Regions from separate parts of the Homo sapiens genome. Here all the other regions are linked to region 1. Evidence: promoter capture Hi-C in 16 types of primary human blood cells and fetal thymus (Javierre and others, 2016). All regions are on one chromosome and are shown on one strand. The core of a region is centred on a gene start or on the middle of the fragment in contact, and the rest is flanking DNA. Distances in the headings are between cores, read along the strand shown. Region 1 holds the start of ANKRD50 (ankyrin repeat domain containing 50). Region 2 has its middle 72 kb from the start of FAT4. Region 3 has its middle 31 kb from the start of FAT4.

The links. The method cuts DNA at HindIII sites, captures the fragments that hold promoters and counts their contacts. A CHiCAGO score of 5 or more calls a contact.
Region 2: a fragment that was not itself captured here is called in contact with the fragment with the promoter of ANKRD50 in region 1 in 1 of 17 cell types (endothelial precursors); the score reaches 13.3 in endothelial precursors.
Region 3: a contact is called between a fragment that was not itself captured here and the fragment with the promoter of ANKRD50 in region 1, in 3 of 17 cell types (endothelial precursors, M1 macrophages and megakaryocytes). The highest score is 11.2, in endothelial precursors.

Annotation. Positions count from the first base shown.
Region 1 is chr4:124,710,613-124,713,981 of GRCh38, forward strand. ANKRD50 (ankyrin repeat domain containing 50) reads right to left here and starts at 2,120. Exons shown (of 5, transcript NM_020337.3): 1 at 1,846-2,120; 2 at 1-662. RefSeq lists enhancers at 1,528-2,093, 2,094-2,659 and silencers at 1,607-1,846, 1,997-2,376. The HindIII fragment of the contact is 8,904 bases long and covers 1-3,369 here.
Region 2 is chr4:125,241,575-125,244,826 of GRCh38, forward strand. No RefSeq gene overlaps it. Among named protein-coding and RNA genes, the nearest start is that of FAT4, 72 kb to the right of the region's middle. The HindIII fragment of the contact is 882 bases long and covers 1,209-2,090 here.
Region 3 is chr4:125,281,984-125,285,143 of GRCh38, forward strand. No RefSeq gene overlaps it. Among named protein-coding and RNA genes, the nearest start is that of FAT4, 31 kb to the right of the region's middle. The HindIII fragment of the contact is 1,110 bases long and covers 1,290-2,399 here.

The DNA.
Region 1 (3,369 bases), core at 870-3,369:
AGTAACTAGTTACAGTAAAATTCAACAGCCACAGAGTTCCTCTGTCAACAGAACGTGCATGACTTTATTTGGTTCCTTATTCTTGATCAGCAGTCTATGTATTAGTTGTTGAACTGAGGGAGAAACGCCTGATTCCACAGCTCAGCAACACTTTTCCTAAATTTTAATGAGTCACATAACTCCATGGTTATAACTGGAGTTTATGTGATTGTGGATGTTTCAAGAACAGAGATGAGACAATACATGTGGAAAACTAAAGAAAAAACCCAATCTTTCAATTTGTACAAAATGCTTCTCCAGATTCCAAGTGTTAATTCTGCATCTGACAATTAGATTCTGAAAAGAGGTCCACTGCATTAAATGGCATCAGAGAGATTACATTTATACGGTATGAGGTACAGTATGTAAGTAGCTCTGTATTTCTCGTTGAAGGATGATCACTCAAGAGTACTAGATCGTGCCAGTTTCAGGCATCTGGGCAACTGCCAGGAACTGTTTCAGATTATAGTCTCTTATGTGGCAGAAATGACAACCACTGTTAACACCTTCTTAATTCAAAGCATTCATAATATGCATTTTTCAAGACAGCAGATTCTTAATGAACCTGTTCACAGGTTTCTTGGTTTTAAGACGTCCGGGTAATCAACAATTTCCACAAGTAACTAAAATAAAACAAACAAAAATACCTCAGTGCAAAATATCATATGTTAAAAACTTATTAAGGACAATAAAGGTTGCAGTGTACCAGTTAACGTAATCTCAAAAATCCACGTACTTCACCTTTGGCACTTTCAAAAAGTTGGACAAAAACCACTGAAATAATCACATTCTCCCTTCTGCATTTTTCTTCCTCATTGTTATGCTTCCCAAACAGCCACATTTTAATCAAGTTACCCAAGATTTTTGCAACTTCACCATAGCAAAGGAGGGGGGGAGAAACTTTACGCACATACAGTAACACCCTTAACTCCAGGCAAAACGCTCATTCACAGTAGACTGGTAGAACAGCGCCAGCTAAGGAAGCTCTATTAACTTACACAGTCCAGTCAGTCAAGGACTGTCTACTCCTCCAGCCACACTTCTTTGTTGATAATGTGCAAAAATCTAGGGGAAGATTACCAGGGTTGCAGCTGGATGGGAAACGGTTTAAAAAAAAAAAACAAAAACGATGGGGGATGACTGTTCTTATAAGAATGATAAAGCAAACACAAGTAAAATGTGAATCCTTCCTTCCTCTGGGCCAAGGATGGAGGTCAGGGATAAAATCTACCAGTCTGGCCGGAGAAAAGGCTGCTAGAGAGAAATTCCTTCCAAGACAGGAAAGGGATAAAGAGTAGAGTGCTTCGGTGCTGGTGGGTGTCTGCCCACAGGTCCGGCCTCCAGTTTCAGCTGACAGACAAAAGGAACTCCGGGATTCCCAGCGCCGGGCACCACCTTGGGTTGGAACCGCCCAGAGGAGCCACAGGGGAGCCACCTCAGAGAGGCCACGAGCGAAGGTGCAGCCTCCACACCGAGGTCTGCCCTTCCAGAGGCTGGGAGCGCCTCTGCACCCCGCCCCGCACCGAGATTGGGGTGTGTCTTTTGAAGGGGGAGGGGGTGACTGAGGTCCTTGCCAATCCCAGACGAGGGGTCGCCTCCCGGTCGGCTTCCGCCTCTGCGCTCCCGCCCCATGCCCCGCTCCCGCTCCCACCCGGCCGACGGCGGTGCGAGGGAAGAGGGCAAATCTGGGGCTCGAGGCCGGAGAGGGTGGGTGGTTGGGTCAGGTCCAAGCCACGGCCTCGGCCTCCCAGCTTCCAACCCGAGGGAGGGGCCTCGCTTCCACCGCCGCCGCCGCCCCCCGGTTACCTCGGCCCCAGCCGCCGCCGTGGCCGCCGCTGCCGCTGTTAGGGACTCTCAGTCTCAGACACTTGCTTCGCTGAGAAGTCGCTGCCAGCAGCGCTCCCAAGACTCCACTCCAACTGCAGCCGCCTCCTCCGCCGGGCCCGGGGCACGCTCCCAGCTCCGGATCCTCCTCTTGGCCCCCGGCGGCTGCCAGTTCCAGCTTTCCCAGCAGAATCGGTCGTGCTCGCCCCAGCCCCCACCGGCCAACCGCCGCCGCCGCCGCCGTCAGGGCAGTAACTGTCTCAGGCAGCCCCCGGCCGGCCGGCTCCGCCCCGCCCGCCCAGCCCAGACCCCGCCCCCGCCCCCGCCCCCGCCCCGCCGCTCGGCCTTTCTTTGCCCGCCGGCTCCGCCTCCGCGTCCTTCCCCTCCCCCACCGCGCTCTCCCGCAGCATCCCGTGCCTGGGCGTGTGCGGCCGCCTGGGACCCGCTGCCGGCGCGGCGGGGAGACCTGTCTCGGGGCGGCGTGGGGGCCCCGCCTTTCTCAGGGGAGGCGGAGAACGGGGCGGGGGCTGCGTTCTCACGTCTCCGAGCTCACGCGAGTCGTTGCCCCCACCCTCCCCGTCACCACTGGGCCCTGATCCTTCCTTTGTCTTCCAGGCCGGAGGGACTCGCCGGCTGTTGGTGCCGTATCTGCTCCTGGGAGGGGCAGTTGGGTAGGGGGAGATTGCCTCTTGCCTCTCTCTGCTCAACCCTTTTGCCTCTCCCTTAACCCCGTTGCTTCCAAAGCCACTTCGGGCCCCGTTCTACCCCTCAGTCGTCCGGTCTCCTTTCAGTCCATTAAATTCCAGGGATGCTTTTACTTTGGCTGGGACGAAGAGAAGGAAGGAAAAGACTGGGAAGAATGTTGCGAAAATAGAAATAGTGGGGGTATACAGCGACATTCCTACCAGCCTCATGAAAAGGACGTGGCCTCCATCAGATGGAGGTTGACAGCAGGCTTGACTGGGTCTCAGGCCCCTGCTCCTCAGGGCCACTTGATCACCCGCAGCGTCCACTAGGGGGGAAGGTCTTGGTCATGTGGCGTCAGGAAATGCCCTAGAGGGCCTGCTCACAGGGGCCTGTTGGACTAAGCATGTCAGTTGTTTGCACTTACTGGACCTGAGTTGCTTAGATTCCAAATTTCTCCCGGGAAAATAAGTATACCGTCAACTGATGGAATAGGAAATGTAGCATTTTTTATTTTAATTGTTTATGCTAAAATCCAGAGTGCTCTATTTCCCATTCCTCATTAACTTGCATGTGGTTATTTGCCAAAATATTAAGCCAGTCTCCCATCTAGTTTTAGAAATTTCATAGTATAGCTATCACAATAAGAAAGATGGATAAACAAATAGATCGTGTTTGTGCTTACTCTTTCATATTGTTTATTCGTGCCAATTGAGGTTTACTGATCTTAGTATTTAATTTTAATTCATGTACCCTGAATTTTGGGCTTCTTTCCTAAAACACAAGCAAAAGAGGCAGAGTATAAATTCTCCAGAATTAGGG
Region 2 (3,252 bases), core at 400-2,899, 530 kb after region 1:
TGTAGCAGTGGTAGAGAATAAAGATTCATTGTGACATATCAATATCTGCTTTCAAAGGAAAGTATGCTTCTATCATTATTTGATCTTTTTTCACATCAGAATTCCAGGTAAATAAACATGCAATTGTAAAAAACAAAAAACCAAAAACCCACAAAACAAAACAAAACTTGCCCAGGATTAAAAAAGAGTACAGTTTCATCATTAAATAACAATTGAAAAAGAGCTGCCCTAAAGCAATAGATCTGAAGTTTACCCACACTTCTTTAAAAGAAAGAAATGTCTGGTAAAATACTTCTGAATTATATTTACTAATACAAAGAGAGATTAACTCTGCACAAATATGTTGGAATAGCTTAAAGTGAAATATGAAAAGTGTCTTCTTTAAGTCAGAATGTTGCAATTGTTTTTTATTATTTAAAAGCCTACATTCTTTCTGTGCATAAGATAGTGTGTGTGAATGCTGTATAATTACTTTGAACCACAAAAGCATTGTAAAAATTGATATAAGGAGAATCACGAAAAGAGTAGACAATGTTGACTGACTTTTCTAGGTAGACTTCTAGATGTCTAACCTATGTAATAATTTATGTTGTTAAGACAGTATTATTTGTCTCACACTTTCATCTTGACATTTTTAACATCAGAAAAAATTAAAGGAATTGGCATTCAGAAAGAATAAATACAAATATTTGTGGTTAGTATATAGTAGACCCAATGATACAACACGTCTAATTCTAAGACCCATATTCTTTCCTTCATAGCATGATGTTTCTTTAAGTTAATTTAACATTTTTGAATGAATAGATACCTATGTACCTATTACATGAAAAATAAATTTGTCTCCATGTACTTGCATAAATACATGGGCAATGTTCATGAAAAGAATGATGGCCACATCTGAAGTGTATTTTCAGACACATCTTCCTCTCTGAATGAGGTAGACAAGTGTAATCTTCAAAGTTTCTGACAATTACAGAAGTCTACAGTTTCCCAAAAAATTAAATTGAAAAGTTGAAATTCTTAATTCAAAAAATAGAATTTTGGAATTTTTACTAAACGTAGAAACTCTGTACAAATATATAGTGATAAATTTGTATAATCAAATATACATTCTGTTTACCAGTATGTGTTAATTCTACCTATAATTTCAGGGAAGCTTCTCAATAATAGTTTTTAACTTTTTTTTTTCAAAATGAATGAAGGCAAGAAGCTTGACACGAACAGCCCAATGTCATGTAACTAATATTTGAAATGTGGTATTAGATCCTAGGATATACTCTCACCAGAAAAAAATGATAAATTGGTGTGGATTCAGACAATAACTTAGAGTTATCAATTCCAGTATCAGAGTCATTCTCTAAAGTTTATTTTTAAACTTTTTGTCCTAATAAAATGTATTATGCATGTGATTTCCTGTATTCCATGAAAAAAATAACATAAGAAATAAAATGTAGTGCCAGTCTTTAAGGATTTCGAATCCATAGTGTGATGGAAAATGAATTCTTATACTTTTACGGTGATAAAGACCCACGTCTCATACTAAAATTTATTTTTAAGTTATATTCATTGACTTCTGGATTTTATAGACACTTAGAAATCCAGTTGTGAAGTTAGCTTTCTAAATCTGTAATTTCTGGTAAAAGATGATGCTATAAATACTAAAGAAGATTGTAAGATAAATAGTAAGGTAAATAAAGCATTGTTTTGGAATGCCATTATTATAAGTAATAATTTTAAATCATCTTCTATTGAAAAAAATGAATATTGTGAATAAAATAGTTTTAAGAAACTACTACTAGCTTTCAACAAAGGAATACCTAAGAGAAAAATAGAAGATATATCACAAATTAAAACAAGAAACAATTTAAGTGGCAGTATAGCTTATAACATATATAAAATCATGGATAGAGTTTATAAATGCAATTTATTTTTGACACATGGTATTAGATATAAAGTTAAAAATCAAAATATAACATTCTTATATATTAGAGATTTTAAAAGACCATTAAATTCTAAAATAATTATATTGAATAAAATTTATATTATGAGGTTGTGAGCCAAATTTGTTCACAAATTGGGCACTGGGTAAAAGCTTATTAAATGAATGAAAATGTAATGGAACAATCTAGAAAAACAAGAACAAAAATAAGCTGAGTCTGCCAAACAATATTGCCTACAAGAAATGAGAAGAAATGCAATCAGAGGAAATATGAAGAGTTTTCTTTATCTTGCTTTTACAGCATTGCCATCGGTCATCCATTCTTCTTGTCCTTTGGAGGTTGAGGAGTGAGCCATAAAAATATTAAATTAAATGAAAACCACTTCATATTAAAATCAATGGATGACTGTTTGAACAGGCACTCTGCCATGGAGCCTAAACATTCCTGCATGTTCTTGCTGGGTATTCTAAAAATGCAAAGTCCTGACTGCTATTTGAGCCATCTTCCAAGGTTGTGATTATGGTGTCCAACCTTGAGAAGAGGTAGCATCTGCCCCTGGACAGAAAGCAGGCTTGTTCCCACTTGCTATAAAAGCAATACATTCCCCAACCTCAATGTTTCTCTGCTGCGGTACAATCCATTGCATGTATAAACACCCGTGGGTCTGGAGGACAGAGGAAACTGGTATAAATATGAAGCTCTGGCTACTACATTTGCTGTGAGTAATATAGTCCTTTGTCTCCTTTACAGGACTTTTGTGTTTTTTTATGAGCATATATAAAACAGTTCCAGGCTAATTTTCTAACTTACAAGTAGGGTAAAATCTCAGATGCTGTGTAGATCTAAACAATGACATCACTATCAAAATGTGTGTGTGCATGTGTGTACACACATAATTCTCTATATTTTTATATGTACATACACATACACATATATCCTGTATCTACTACTTTTTTTAGTCAACTGTTGTAACATTATGCTAATGGTTACATTAAATTGGTTAAGTACATTAAAATGGTTAAGTAAATTGTGCCATTTACTTAAGCCCTCTGTGCCCCCAACTATACATTGAGAATATTATTGATAGATAACTCATAGGGTTGTTATATGAATTAAATGCTATAGTGAGTGGAGTTTTCTTGGAACAATGTTTGGCACTCAATAGCTTTAATTATTCTTTCTTATCTTTGATTACTATTAACATATTTTATAATTCATTATTTTGCAAAGACATTTCACTGAAAGTAGGTTTGTGATCTTTCTATAACTATAAACAGAGACTTTGAGTAAAATAAATATCAATTTGTAGAAT
Region 3 (3,160 bases), core at 595-3,094, 570 kb after region 1:
GAAAGTTTGTTCTTTCACTCTTAGTAGTAAATCCTGTTGCTGCTCACTCTTTGGGTACCTGCTGCGTTTATGAGCTGTAACACTCACCGTGAAGGTCCGTGGCTTCATTCTTGAACTCAACTAGACCAAGAACCCACAAATTCCGGACACAATGCTATTATCACTAAACCATAATTTGTGCATTTTTTCAAGTTACACACACAGACACACATTCACAGCACTTCCTAGTTACTAAAATGTAATACAGTCTTACAGATGTTTTTTGTATGAATAAATGGATAAGTAAATGTATGAAGAAGGGAAGAAATAAATGTATTTATGTTCAACTCTCTCAGTAATGAGTAACCATTTTAATTTGAATTACTTGACTTTCATTCATGTCGTCTGGTTCAATAAGAAAAGCTGAAGAAGATGTGTAATTTCAGCTGGTAGTCTCGTTCCTTTTTTTTTTTTTTTTCGAGACAGAGTCTCTGTCACCCAGGCTGGAGTGCAGTGGCGTTATCGCAGCTCACTGCAAGCTCTGTCTCCCAGGTTCAAGTGATTCTCCTGCCTCAGCCTACCGAGTAGCTGGGACTACAGGCATGCACCACTACACCCAGCTAATTTTTTGTATTTTTAGTAGAGATGGGGTTTCACCATGTTAGCCAGGATGGTCTCGATCTCCTGACCTTGTGATCCCCGCGCCTCGGCCTCCCAAAGTGTTGCTATTACAGGCGTGAGCCACTGCGCCCGGTCCTTAATGGTCATTCTTTTTGTGGCTCTTTCCTCCATAACTTCTAAACCCAACAACTATCATCTTTTACCCCTTATATTCAATTTTGAGAAAAATAATTTTAAATACTAGTTCCATGTGCAAATATTCCTCTGCATCTCTCTTTCTGCCCTGGGAGCATTGTGTGAAAGTGGAGAATAGTGAGAATTTGATACAGTGATATTTTTTCAACCATTTTTTTTATTTTTATCCTGGACACATGACTATCTCTATGCTACAACTCTCTTTGAAGAATTCTCACTGTGCCATGTTCATTCCTTGTTGTTTCCAGATGTAGTATTACCTAGATTACTCTTCTTTCAGCTGCTGTGAGTGTGTGCATATGAGTGTGTGTGTTCATGGGGATTTCCCTGGGGAAGGTGTATAAACAAACAAAAGAAGGATGGAAGGACACCTGGGAAGGGAAAGGAATATGTGCTGGTTTACAGTTTCCAGGTATACTGCACTATTCCCAAAATTTTGCAAATTAGATTTACTCTGTGATTATTTTTTCCCCAGTTTTCAAATATAAAGGATAAGCTTAATAACCCTTCATTGTTTACATTTCTTTTGTTAATGATACAGGATAGTAATCATAACAACAGTGCGTGTTGCATGTTTCTTATGTGCAAGTCCTGTTCCACGTGCTCTGCAGGCATATTCAGTTCTCACAGGAAACCTCTGGAGGAACTGGTTTTATTATTCGCACCTTACAGAAAAGAAAATAGAGGCAAGGAGCATTAAGAAATTGCCCAAGTCATTCAAGAAAGTAAGTAGTGAAGCCAACAAAGAAGCTACAAACTTTTACCAGTGGGACCACGATACTCATGTTCTTAATAGATTTTTCCAATTACTCAGAACTTTTTTTCACTTGGTCAAAAAGAAGAGGTTCAGAAGAGAAAGGCTATCCAGTGGGAAGAAAGTTGTGCCCTCTTCCACCCTATAGAGCAATCTTTGAGGCATAGAAAGAGCTCTTCATTGATGTCAAAATAGAACTCTGTCTTAGTACATAAAATTCTAAGTTTACGTTTTGAGACTATAAAGGTGTAAAATATAGTGCCTGTCCTGGATTTAATTTTGTAAACTTTTGGCTTTTACAAATCGCTTAAAATAAAATGATGAAGGGTTTTTAAGAAACACTGTCCTTGTTTGGTTGAAGTCTGCCACCATGTGGCCACTTTGAAAAATAACATTTTTAGAAGTGACTTCGTAAGAATTTAGATCTAGAAGGATATAGAATATGCAAATATGATATTTCATAATAGCCGAATTTAATCATTGTAGTCAGCCTATTTGTGGTAATGGTATTATTACACAAATCATTTCACAAGAGTCATTTATTTTCATTTATTTTTACTACCAGCTTTTGAGGTAGAAATGTAAGATCTCTCAGTCTGCAAGTACTATTTTTTAACCTTTCATGAAGTACTGACCTGAACAGGAATCCTTAGATTCTAGGTGGGATTCCAATGTCAACTAGCTGTATCTCTACAACATCATATGACTATGACATGGTAGATTTGGATTTTAAGCCCAGTTCAGTCTGACACTGAAACTGGACATATTAGGACCTAAACACGTTTTCCTTGCTTGAAGTTTGTAAGCTATTTTAGTATATCAATTATATTTGTCAAACAACTAAAATCTAAGCTTAACTTTGCACTAAGTTGACATAAAATTAATAGTAGAACTAGTAGTGGTATAGTATAGAATTTAGTAGTGACAGGCAAATATTCTTGTGATAGTTAATTTTAGGTGTCAACTTGACTGGATTAGATAATTCCTAGAGAGAAGGTATTTCCAGAAGAAATTAGCATGTTAATCTGAGTGGATTAAGTGGCAAAGATCTGCTGTCAATGTGGGCAGACACTATTCAGTCAGCTGGGGGCTTGGCTAGAACAAAACCAGAAAAGGCAATTAGGTCTCTCTTTCAAAGAGCTGAGATATACTCTTCTTCTCCTGTCTTGGACATCAAAACTTTAGGTTCACCAGCCGTGGGATTCTAGGACTTACACCAATATCCACGCCCCCTGCCATCTCCAGATTCTCAGGCTTTCAGTCTTAAACAGAGAGCTCACCATGAGGTTCCTTAGTTCTGAGGCCTTCAGACTTGGACTGAGCCATGCTACTAGCATCCCAGGGTCTCCGTCCCAGGGCTTGTCATGGGACTTCTCAATCCCCATAATTGCACGAGAGCTAATTCCTTTAATAAAATCCCCCTCATGTATCTATGTCTATACCTATATCTATTAATAATATCTCTCTCTGTATATATATGTATCCTATTGATTCTGTCTCTTTGGAAAACCCTGGATTGATAGAATTAGTATCTTGTTAAGAATTGGTGCCTAAGGATTTCAAAATTGTTTTCTCCACATTATGTCAAATGAAACAAAACAAAAACAAAAT